Regions from separate parts of the Homo sapiens genome. Here region 1 is linked to region 2. The links are contacts of gene promoters, found by promoter capture Hi-C in blood cells and fetal thymus (Javierre and others, 2016). All regions are on one chromosome and are shown on one strand. Each heading gives the region's core, a stretch centred on a gene start or on the middle of the fragment in contact. The rest is flanking DNA. Distances are from core to core; before and after follow the strand shown. Region 1 overlaps ATP10B (ATPase phospholipid transporting 10B (putative)). Region 2 holds the start of HMMR-AS1 (HMMR antisense RNA 1).

Region 1 (6,560 bases), core at 3,153-5,652, 2.7 Mb after region 2:
AAAACCTGAATTCTCAGTTTCAATGGAACACACAAAATAAGTTCTCATAAGACTAAGGTGGTATAGATGGCAAATGTTGCAGGCATAAACATCTGGTCAAGGGGTGCTATAGATGCATACAGACTAAGTTCATTCTGGACAGCACCTTAAGGAGAATTGAAGATACCAAGGTCTTACAGATCCTCAGTCCTCAAGGAAAAAGCCTGTCATGTTAATTAGTCCATACTTTGGCTAGAAATCTGTGGGGAAGAAACGTATACCACAAGGAGTGTAACCAAAAATTTCTCAGCCTGATGAGAATTTGTATGTGAGTGTCTGAAAGCACATTGTGAACCAAAAGAAGTATTGTCACTTGAGCCCGTAATTAAGGTTTTATTTCCTTAAATTTTAAGCATGGTTCTCCCTATTGGCCCATCTGTACGTTTCAGTTTTATCCATATTTATCTCCATCAATAGCATTTCATAAAGAATGTTGCCCTGAAAAAGGCACATCCTTTTGTACAGATCCATTAATGATATATGTAAAATCAACCTCTATTTATATCTGCCTCATGCAGCCCAAGACTGAACTTCATCACCCTAGACAGCATGCTCATTACCCTAGGAGCATAAGAATCAGATGTTATGCCCTATTAGAAGCACTGTTGGTTTGATCACCATTTTATTTTATTTTATTATTTTATTTTGGGGACAGGGTCTTGCTATGTCTCCCAGGCTGGAGTGCAGTGGCATGATCTCGGCTTATTGCAACCTCCACCTCCCAGGTTCAAGCGATTCTCATGCCTCAGCCTCCCAAGTAGCTAGGATTACAGGCTTATACCACCACACCTGGCTAATTTTTTGTATTTTTAGTAGAGATGGGATTTTGTCTGTTGGCCAAGCTGTTCTCAAACTCCTGGCCTCAAGTGATCCACCCACCTCAGCCTCCCAAAGAACTGGAATTATAGGCATGAGCCACCATGCACAGCCTTTTGGTTATGATTTTAACAACCAGGAGTCTATTAGATGATTCATGTTGTATGACTGCCCACAAGTATGGTAGAAAAATTGCCAGGAAACCACAGGGCATATATTATATTCATAACAAAGTTTTCCCATAAAGTTGAGGTTTCCCTCTAAAGTATTTAATTTATAATTTAACTATTTTGCATGAAAACATTTGGAAATATGCTTTTAAAGTCATTTTTAAGATTTAAAACGCGTCTTCTCACTGCCAAATGTAATTGATTTAAAAACATCACACAAAGTAAAAATAGGGTTCTGTCTTATAAGGTTTCATTTCTCAGCTAAATTTCTCCATCTGTTTATAAATTGTCCAGTTCCTCCACTAGATCCTTTCACATATTGTAATCATAGTTATTTTATAATATTTGTCTTCTAATTCTAACGTCTGTACTTCTACAATTGACTATTTTTTCACTTGATTATGAACCAACTTTTCCTGCTCCTTTGCCTGTCTCATAATTTTTGGTTGTATGCTGGACATTGTGTGGGAAAATCAAACAGGATGAAATAAATATTAACTCCTTGAAAAGAGCATATCCCTTTCTATTCAGACAGCTGAGGTGGAGAGTTGAGTCAATCTAATCATCTAATCTATAACTGAGCTGAATCTGAGATTTGCTGCAGCTTTATTTAAATTCACTTCACCACTACCATCAAACAATTTGAAGGCAGCATTAGGGCTTTACCTTCATTGGGTCTTAGAACCTAATTATTAGTGATAGTTTCAAGATTCCCCTGTATTCTACAACCCAGCTTTCAGCTGTCCAAGTTGTATGAGATTTCTCTTGCTCTCTCCTCTTATAGCACAACCATAAACTTTTGAGGTAGTATATTTTCTCTCTGCTCTCTAGTTCTGTAAACAGTTTTCTATGCCTTGTTAAATCTCTCCATCATACTAGCCTGCCACCAGCCTTCAGTAGACTGATGCTTTATATTTAGTAAAGTTCCCAGGCTCCTCAGAGAAAATCTCTCTCTGATTCCCTGCCCTACTCCAGAGTTTGGCACATTAACACTACGCACTTGGCACACATGCCATGAAAAGGGTTGGAGAGTGACGAGTGACTGCAGACTTACTTTGGGCTAGATTTGCCCAGGATTCTAATGTGTCATGCCAGCCCATGCCTGACCATAAAAGATTGATAAAAATTGGGCTTGTTTCTCCTTACCCCCACCTATGGCAGGTTTTGTTCTTCTTGTGCCGTGCCCTCCGGGATGATACAGCTGTGGCAGTGTTCTCTAGGAGTAGCTTCTCTCTCTCTGTTTATCATATTTAGGTATTTTTGTGTCGTCAGGAAGATGAGGGTTTTTTTAGAGTATAATCGTGTGGCTTATTTAGCTTTATCTCTTTGACAAGTGGGAGCAAATGTATCTTAAGAGCAGTCTACATTCTAGAAGCACAGGTTATACAGTAAAAATTGAAAGCCTGTCTCCTTGTTCTCCAGATACATCCAAGTGTGTACACATTCACACACCCTTATTCATTCATTTGTTTCAGTGTGGGCATATGTGTGTAAATTTTAAAATAAATACCTTGCTATATACTCTCTCTACAACTTAACACTTTTTATCAACAATGTGTTGAGGGCATTTTTCCCTATTAGTACATATAAAACTACCTTATTCTTTTGAGTATTTATATAGTATTTTGTTATATTGGTTGAGCCATCACTTATCCAGGCAATTTCTTACTGATGGACATTTAGTTATTAAATACATAATACTACAAATACTGTAGTCATGAACAATCTTACAAAGGTAGCCAGAGTTTTATGAGTATTTCTAAGGCTGATTTCCTGAAGGTAAAATTGCCAGTTTGAAGGTGTTGGCTTATTTTAAAAGGTGATAATAAACACAATGTGATCTCATACTGCTCTGTGGCATTATTATGATTATTATTGCTATACTGCTTGGATGTTCTGATTACTTGTTGACAAATGCTGGGCTATTTGACCCCTTGAACAAAGGCCTAAGACCAGAGAAGCAAACTGGCTTTTGTGGAACACAGCTCCCATTATTGTTCTATAAAAGGATTCTGTGTTCAAGTTAGATTGGAAATTCCAGTATACTTTACTCACCTACTTTCGTTTTTAGAGATAGAGACTCTGGGAAGCCATAAAGAAAAGTGAGAAATTTAACTTTATTCAAACCAGTGTTTTCCACACATCTTGATCAAGGAACTCTTTATTGCCTATTACCTCTTGACATCCTATAGAACTGTAAACAATTTTGTTCTTTTTAAAATAAATTTATATGTTTGTTTCTTCAATCTCTTCCCTGGTAAGGAGGTATTCAGCACTTTTCACAATGAATTGTCTTTTCTTCTTATCTGCTATTCCAGAAGGGCTTTTTGCTTAGAGATGGGGTAGATTCATGCTTGTTAGAATTGTTTACAAACTAGAAATAAGCAGACTTTAAAAGGAAGCCTGAGGTGTTACCTCATAATTAGTAATTACAGCTTTTAGTGCCTGAACACTATTGAACCTACTTGACCTTCCCAAAATTCTTCTCTTGTTTCAAGATTTTCATCTGTATTTTCCCACAAATGAAGTATTATGTACTTGGCAATCTCCTGAAATCCTAACTTAGGAAAGTCTCCTGCTTATTTAAAGCTTAAGTAGGGGTAATGTGTTCTGCCAGAAGAGGAAACTAGGAAAGTTCAGTAATCTTATTCATCATAAGGTATCAGAAGTGATCTGTGCAGTTAAACAAGGAAAATTCTATGCTAGGTAGAGTCACCATTAATTAAGAACTTACTATATGCCAGCCACTGTGCTAAGAAGTTTACCTGAGTCACCACATTTACTAGGCTCAACAACAAACTAAGAAATACTATTATTTTCTCCATTGAATGAATAAAGAACTTTGGGCTGAGTGAATCTAAAAGAAAAAAAAAAAGCGTGTTGAAAGTGACAGAGCAAATATAAAAATAAGTGACAAAGATGAGAGTTAATATAAGCTTGCCCAATTTCAAAGTCTGTCTTTAACCACTACACTATTCTGTCCACTCTGTGTGTGTGTGTGTGTGTGTGTGTGTGTTTGTGTATGTATGAGAGAGAGAGAGAGAGATTGAGAAGAGGCATACAGAAACAGGGATAGAGAGAATGAGAATAAAATTAACCAAAGGTATTGTTTGGAGATGTCAGATTAACTAAAATAAGAGTCCGAGGTTGAAGGCCAGCACAAGCTCAGGTAAAATTTTCACTTGTCAGTGATCCTTCTAGATTCCATTATATTTGCTGTCTTCATTTCTACTCTAGAGCTTCCAGTGACGTAGTTGTCAAATATGCAATAAAAATCTACTCTACAGATAATGGAACTATCAAAATCTCAACTTAAAAAAAAAATCCAGAGTTTCATACATAAAAATTTGGCTCAATTTCTAATGAACATAGATTACATGAAATCAACAGTGTTTTCTCTATGGATAGCCTATAAATACAAGTAAAAAGTAAGGCTCAAATCAATCTACAGCTGGGAGCACACTTGAAAAAGCAAAGCATTGGTTTTTAAGGCTCAAAAAAATCTTAAACCTATTTGATCTGGTGTCACTATTACAATTTGCCATATACAGAAAACATGTATTTATTCAGCACACATGTATTGAACATTTCACTTCCAAGGCATAAAGTCAACTGTCACAATGCCTATACAAACACACAGCAATTAAAAAAGTTAAGAAGTGAATTGCTCGAGTGCATTTGGGAATATTTTTAAAAATAGAACATTAAAGAAAATATGCAATTTGATTCAACATATATAAATCAATAAATATGATTCACCACATAAACAGAATTAAAAGCAAAAACCACATAACCTCGATAGATGCAGAAAAGCTTTTGATAAAATCCAACATCCCTTCATGATAAAAGCCCTCAACAGAGTAGGCATAGAAGGAACATACCTCAAGAGCCATCTATAAAATCCACAGCCAACATCATACTGAACAGGCAAAACCTGGAAACATTCCCCTTTAGAATTGGAACAAGACAAGGATGCCCACTCCCACCACTCCTATCAACAGAGTACTGGAAGTCCTAGTCAGAGCAATCAGCAAGAGAAAGAAATAAAAGGCATCCGGATAGGAAAGGAAGAAGTCAAATTATCTCTATTTGCTGACAATATCATTCTATACTTAGAAAACCCTAAGGACTCCCCCAGAAGGCAACTAGAACTGATAAATGAGTTTAACAAGGTTGCAGGATATGAAATCAATATACAAAAATCAGTAGCGTTTCTATACATTAATAACATCTAGGCTAAGAGTCGAAGAATATGATTGCATTTAAAATACCACAAAAAAAGTGAAATACCCAGAAATCCAGCTAACGAATGAGATGAAAGATTGCTAAAAGGAAAACTACAAAGACTACTGGAAGAAATCAGAGATGACATAAATGAAAAATGTTACGTACTCATGGATTGGAAGAACTGATATCATTAATATGGCCATACTTCCCTATTGGAATTTAGAGATTCAATGCTATTCCTATCAACCTACCAATGTCACTCTTCACAGAATTAGGAAAAAACGATTCTAAACTATTCTAAAACGCATATGAAACCAAAAAAAGAGTGCAAATAGCAATCCTGAGCAAAAAGAATAAAGCCAGAGGAATCAAACTACCCAATTTCAAGCCATACTATAAGCGTGCAGTAACCAAAACAGCATGGTACTGGCACAAACACAGACATGTAGCTCCATCAAACAGAACAGAAAAACCAGAAATAAAACCATAAACCTACAACCATCTAATTTTTGATAAGGCTGACAAAAACAACGAATTGCTTTTTTTTTTATTATTATACTTTAAGTTTTAGGGTACATGTGCACAATGTGCAGGTTAGTTACATATGTATACATGTGCCATGCTGGTGTGCTGTACCAATTAACTCATCATTTAGAATTAGGTATATCTCCTAATGCTATCCCTCCCCCCTCCCCCCACCCCACAACAGTCCCCAGAGTGTGATGTTCCCCTTCCTGTGTCCATGTGTTCTCATTGTTCAATTCCCATCTATGAGTGAGAACATGCGGTGTTTGGTTTTTTGTCCTTGCGTTAGTTTACTGAGAATGATGATTTCCAATTTCATCCATGTCCCTACAAATGACATGAACTCATCATTTTTTATGGCTGCATAGTATTCCATGGTGTATATGTGCCACATTTTCTTAATCCAGTCTATCATTGTTGGGCATTTGGGTTGGTTCCAAGTCTTTGCTATTGTGAATAGTGCCGCAATAAACATACGTGTGCATGTGTCTTTATAGCAGCATGATTTATAGTCCTTTGGGTACATACCCAGTAATGGGATGGCTGGATCAAATGGTATTTCTAGTTCTAGATCCCTGAGGAATCGCCACACTGACTTCCACAATGGTTGAACTAGTTCGCAGTCCCACCAACAGTGTAAAAGTGTTCCTATTTCTCCACATCCTCTCCAGCACCTGTTGTTTCCTGACTTTTTAATGATTGCCATTCTAACTGGTGTGAGATGGTATCTCATTGTGGTTTTGATTTGCATTTCTCTGATGGCTAGTGATGATGAGCATTTTT
Region 2 (6,321 bases), core at 30-2,529:
TGACATGGGCTCACTAAGCCAAGATTCTGCATTTAACATTGCAGCTTGGGGAGTTAGAAAGGGTGCTCACAGTTTGATTGGCTTACTAAAACATGGAAAAGATGAATTGGAAGTGCTGGACATGCCTTGGTTTAATCTAGAGGATGGGATTAAAAGGTTTAGGAATATTGGGAAATTAGATTTTTCACTTAAGAACTACTCATCTCGGGTGGATCATGAGGTCAGGAGATCGAGACCATCCTGGCTAACAAGGTGAAACCCCGTCTCTACTAAAAATACAAAAAATTAGCCGGGCGCGGTGGCGGGCGCCTGTAGTCCCAGCTACTCGGGAGGCTGAGGCAGGAGAATGGCGTGAACCCGGGAAGCGGAGCTTGCAGTGAGCAGAGATTGCGCCACTGCAGTCCGCAGTCCGGCCTGGGCGACAGAGCGAGACTCCGTCTCAAAAAAAAAAAAAAAAAAAGAACTACTCATCCACACTGGGAAGGTCAAGAAAGCATACCTTTCACCAATACTATGAGAAAGAAATTTGCGAGGAGAGCTCCAGCATCTTTTTCAGAACTCTGTGATGGCTCTTCTCTGTAGGCCAGAGCTCACTGCAGTCACTGAACTGGAAAACCTAAATATAATGGAAGTAAAGGATCCCAGGGTGGCAAGGGTCAAGTAATGGGACTCAACCACCAAAGGCAAGGTGAAGTGGTTATCATAATGACAGAGCCAAAGGAACAATTAGAATAATCTCACTTGTAGACCTATGCTTTGGCTAGTTGATCATGGTTTTCCTAGACGTGAAATAGATAGGAAGCCTACTGAAGTCTTAACTTGATCTGTATAAGCAGAAAACTTCTAAGTCAAGTGACGAAAGTTGAACTCGAATCATAAAAACAGAATCGTGGTCCCTTAATTCCCAAACTTGAGCCACTTTATAGAGCCCAAAACCCTTTGATTGAAGGGGAGGACCTCAAAGGGACCCTGGTCCATAACCAAATGTTTATACTGTTAGTCTTTCTCCTAGTCCTCCGCAAAGGGATGTACAACCTTTACCAACGTAACTGTGCATTAGAAAAAGGGAATAATCAGATCTTTTGTGAACTAGTGGACACTGGCTCTCTGAAGTGACACTAATTTCAGGAGATCCAAAGTGCTACTGTCAGGGTAGCAGCTTATGGAGGTCAGGTGATCAGCAGAGTTTTAGCTTAGTTCCATCTCACAATGGGCCCAGTGAATTCCTGAACCTATCCTGTGGTTATCCCCTAGTTCTAGAATGTATAATTAGAATACAGTCAGCAGCTGACAGAATAATCCACACATTGGTTTCCTTACCTATGGAGTGAGGGCTATTATGGTGGAAAAGGCCAAGTAGAAGCCACTAGAACTATCTGTACTTAGGAAAATAGTAAACCAAAAGCAATGCTCAATTCCTATAGGGACTGAAGAGATTAGTGCCACCATAAGTACTTGAAGGAAGGCGGGGTGGTGATTCCTACCATATGTCCATTCAACTCGCCTATTTAGCCTGGGCAGAAGACAGATGGATTATCACAAACTTAACTAGGTGGTGACTCCAATTGCAGCTACAGTACCAGATGTATTGCTTGAGCAAATTAACACAACTCCTGGTTCCTGGTATGCAGCTACCTGGTATGATCTGGCAAATGCCTTTCTCTCCATCCCTGTCTATAAGGCCGACCAGAAGCAGTTTGCTTTTAGCTAGCAAGGCTAGAAATGCACCTTCATGTCCTACCTCAGGGCATATCAACTCACCAGCCCTGTCCTAATTTTGTTCACAGGAATCTTGATTGCCTTTTCTTTCCACATCACATTGGTCCATTACATTGACGACATTATGCTCACTGGACCTAATGAGTGAGACATAGCAACTACTCCAGACCTATTGGTAAGACATTTGCATGTCAGAAGTGGGAAGTAAATCCAACAAAAATTCAAAGGCTTTTTCATGTCTCAGTAAAATTTCTAGGGGTCCAGTGGTATGAGGCATGTTGAGATACCCCTTCTAAGGTAAGTTTTTGCATCTGCCCCCTCCTACAACCAGAAGAGGCATGACATGCGGCAGGCCTCTTTGGATTTTGAAGACGTTTCCTCATTTGAGTTTGTTACTCTGGCCCATTTACTGAGTGACTTGAAAAGCTGCTAGTTTGGAGTAGGACTCAGAATAGGAAAGGTTCTGCAATAGGTCCAGGCTATTGTGTAAGCGGCTTTGTTGCTTGGGACATATGAACTTGCAGATCCAGTGGTATTTGAAGTGTCAGTGGCAGATAGAGATGCTGTTGGAACCTTTGGCAGGCCCACATAGATGAATCTCAGTGCAGACCCTTAGTATTTTGAAGAAAGACCTGTTATCCTATGCAGATAACTACTCTTTTGAGAAACAGCTCTGGGCCTACTGCTGGGCTTCAGTAGGGACTGAATGCTTACCGTGGTCAATTAAGTTACCATGCGACCTGAGCTGCCCATCATGAGCTGGGTGTTATCTGACCCACAAGCCATAATGCTGGGTGTGGACAGCAGGAGTACATCATCAAAGAACGTGTTATGTATGTGACTGGGCCCAGGCAGGACCTGAAGGCAAAAGCAAGTTACATGAAGAAGTGACCCAAATGCCCATGGTCCCTGTTCCTGCTACCTTGCCTTTTTTCTCCCAAGCTCATGGAGAGTTCCCTATGATGAGTTGACAGGAAGAAACAACATGGGCCTAGTTTATAGATGGTTCTGTGTGATATGTAGGCATCACCTGAAAGTGGATAGCCATAGTACACCAGCCCTTCTCTGGGACATCCCTGAAGGATAGTGGTAAAGAGAAATCCTCCCAGTGGGCAGAACTTTGGGCAGTGCACCTGGTTGTTCATCTTGTTACCCCATGTTGGCTAAAAGTAGAGGTCCTGAAGCATTTTATTATTTATTTATATATTTTTTAGAGATGAGGTATCACTATGTTGCTCAGGCTGGTCTTGAATTCCACCTGCCTCAGCCTCCCAAAGTGTTGGGATTATAGGCGTGAGCCACTGGGCCCAGCCCATTAAACCATTTTATTTTATTAGACAATTTTTCTAATTTCTACGTTTCTTCTGAACTTAATTTAAAAAACTGTATTTTAAAATTCAACCATGTATTAAGATCTAATAAAATAATAATGAAAAGCAATTCTGACTGATAGTCCCTGTTGAGCCATCAGTGAGAACACATTATAAAAAAGGTAGCTTATAAATATCATACCAATGATATGTGCAAAACAGGCATTTTAGAGAGAGATTTACCACTTTCCAAACAGTATCTTTTGTGATTCTGGGGACAAGGTGGTGTGGGTAGGGTAGAGATGATAAATACATCTTACATAGAAGCATGAATGTAACTTCATAAAATACAAGCTGAAAAATTAATTGGTTAAATGACTTACTGTGTAATTTTATTTCATATTACACAAATGTTAATCAAATGCTGAGTAGACATGCAGATGACAAGCAGTATATGACAAACTCTGAAGAAATAGTTACATGTAGAGTTTCTCAGATTTTTAGTGTATCTAAGAATTAACTGAAGAGTTTGTTAAGAATGCAGGCTTAAAGGCCAATCCACAGATTATAATTTCATACAAACAGGATGGAGCCTAAGAACCTGTAAATTATTAAACAACTGATTAAAAATAGAGAGGTTTCTATGAAGTTAGGCTTGTCCTTATTTCTTATTTGAACTGGACAAGTAGAAGGATAATAGGTAGGACCAAGTGAGCATTATCAGAATCAAAGTAGAGGCAATAACAAGCCAAGGTGTTTTAGCCTAGCTAAAGAAGCTCAGACTAGAAAAGACCTCCAGGATCAAGCTGAAGAATCTGGGGTTTAGACTCTTGAAACTAAGGTTTCAGAACAGGAGGATAATAATATGATACTGACTTTTAAGTTGATGAGATGCATTCTAAGCTGGAAAGCCAGCGAAAGGGTTCAGAATGAGGTGATAAAGGTGAGCATTAGGGAGGAGGTATTTGCAAGAAAAAATAAAATGTCAAAAGACACTTTGGTAAAAAATGTTCCTTTCACATATTTAAGGATTGGCAGTTAAAATTAAATACAACATTATAAAATACCCATGTCAAATATAATAACAGCAACATCAATAACAACAAGACGAATGAAATAATCTTCAACAGGTTTCTCAGATGTTTACTTCCATGATTCTTGACACTCCATAGGAGCTCGGTAACAGTTTGTATTGCCTAGAAGAATTATTGAAAAGAAGGATTAGTAATCTAGATTAAAACGAATTTATCCATCATTATAAACTAAAAACAGGCCTTGTATCTTCTTTAAGGCAGATGAAGCAATATATTCTGTAAGATAATTTTTAGATTTATCATTTCAACCAACTTTAATTTATCGTGAAAGACAAACATTCACAGTCAAGAAATAAGAAATTTACTTCTCTAAAACTACAAATCAGAAAATGATTAAGGACCTAAGAGACATTTAGGTTAAAATGCTAAGGGTATTATAGAGGGAGTAATTTGGGGTGTGTGGACAGGGACAAAATAGTCATGCAAAGCTTCAAGGAAGATTTGAGATTTGCCTTGAAGAACAGGCAGAATCCAGGTATACAGAAAAGAAAGCGTAGAAGGAGGAAGAAAACAGTCATTGTACACAACAATCTCAGTAAGAACTGCTTTTATCAGAAGGTGTCAACAAATTTTCACAGTTCATAAAATGGATGACTTGCTAAATGCTATAAAAGCAAATCCAAAGGAAGAGGACACTTTTATACATTTATTCATGTCTTACCTTCTTTTAATGGGGTCTTCAGGGCAAAATTTTCTTTACTTTCATGATGAAAAGCCTTTGAAGGATCAAAGTGTTTGATACCTAGAACTTTATTCAATTCCTCTTGAAGTTTTGTCTCACTTTGTTTTTTTTTAGCAAGCTGACAGCGGAGTTTTGATACTTCCTAGGTAAAAAGAAATAATAGGTAATAAACAATTATTAAAGAGTATGTCAGTGAAATGTGTTACCAATGTTGCGGGCAAATTCCAAAGTTGTTTATGTATTATCACACTCAACAGCAAAAATCACTACTAGACACAGGCTTTAAGACTGAATTACAAAATGACATGAAACAGCTGTGACAAAGGAGATACAGTCTTTTAAATCTCCTTGCCCCTCCTCAGCTACAAAGCTATTTTTCTGATAAAAGTTCAACTCAAAAGTAATTGCTGAGATGGACTTCTGGCATGACAGCATGAAAGTTCTGCTGACCTGCTCCCTAGTGAAACTAAAAGTTATAAAATATTAACCAGTTAAAGCCTCTGAAAATTGACCTAAGGGAAAAATAGCAAATGAAGAAACATCTATTCAAGAAAATCTGCAAAAATTTGGTGAAAAAGAGAGTCTGCAGTGTTTAAGCCAAAACTCCTTCCCCTCTTCCCACTCCCAGCTTAGCAAGGCAAAGTCCACGCCAGACGGCTACAGCCAAAAGCACAGGGCCCTCTTTTCCCCCAACTCCGAGTCAGAAGCTTCCCTCCCAGGAGGACCAGGACATCAGAGTTTCTCATTTTGTCCCCAGCTCCCTGTGGCTGCAGTTATATCCTGGACAAATGCAATTGTGAGGTGGGGGATCCCTTCCTCCAGTCAGCCCCATTCATGGAACAGGGGCTCACCTTGGGCACAGTGTGTTGAAAATGCTGGGCCCCGATGACTCTTTCTCTGGCTCATGAGGGGGATGGTTCTACACCAGGAGGTTACTCAAGAGGGCCTGAGGCTATTCCTCATCTCTTCCCCACAAGTCCACTGAAAACTCAGCTCCTAGGGCAGAGGATGTCACTCAGAGAGAAAACTGCCATTGTCCCCAATTTCAGCTCTAGTCCTGGCTCAGGGATATTGTCGGGGGAGGGGGAAAGGAGGGCGGAAAAGACAAGTAGGCCATAAAACAGGGAGCTCCTCATTTCTTTTCAAAGGAACTGACTTCACCTGCAACAGAGCTTGGAGAAGCTGAAGCCTAAGGGTGCTCTAAAGCAGGGGTCCCCAACCTCCGGGCTACAGACCAATACCCATCCAAGGCCTGTTAGGAACCCGGCTGCAGAGCAGGAGGTAAGTGGTGAGCCAGGAAGCATAAGCATTACCCCCTGAGCTCCCCCTCCTGGCAGATCAGCTGCGGCATTAGATTCTCACAGCAGTGTGAACCCTATTGTGAAATGCACATGTGAGGGATCTAGGCTGCATGCTCCTTATGAGAATCTAATGCCTCATGATCTGAGGTGGAACACTTTAATCCTGAAACCATCCACATAAACCCATCACAAGCTGGGTGATCCGGTCTGTGGAA

The links. Contacts are between HindIII fragments. The CHiCAGO score rates a contact against its expected background, and 5 or more counts as called.
Region 1: a contact is called between a fragment that was not itself captured here and the fragment with the promoter of HMMR-AS1 in region 2, in 1 of 17 cell types (M0 macrophages). The highest score is 9.6, in M0 macrophages.

The regions. Positions count from the first base shown.
Region 1 is chr5:160,828,452-160,835,011 of GRCh38, reverse strand. All of the region lies in intron 1 of ATP10B (ATPase phospholipid transporting 10B (putative)), which reads left to right. Among named protein-coding and RNA genes, the nearest start is that of ATP10B, 20 kb to the left of the region's middle. The HindIII fragment of the contact is 877 bases long and covers 3,964-4,840 here.
Region 2 is chr5:163,489,016-163,495,336 of GRCh38, reverse strand. It overlaps HMMR-AS1 (HMMR antisense RNA 1), which reads left to right and starts at 1,279. Exons shown (of 4, transcript NR_109892.1): 1 at 1,279-1,638; 2 at 1,788-1,894; 3 at 5,954-6,086. It overlaps HMMR (hyaluronan mediated motility receptor), which reads right to left. Exons shown (of 18, transcript NM_001142556.2): 17 at 4,785-4,947; 18 at 3,396-4,225. The coding sequence ends at 4,173. The HindIII fragment of the contact is 5,178 bases long and covers 1-4,553 here.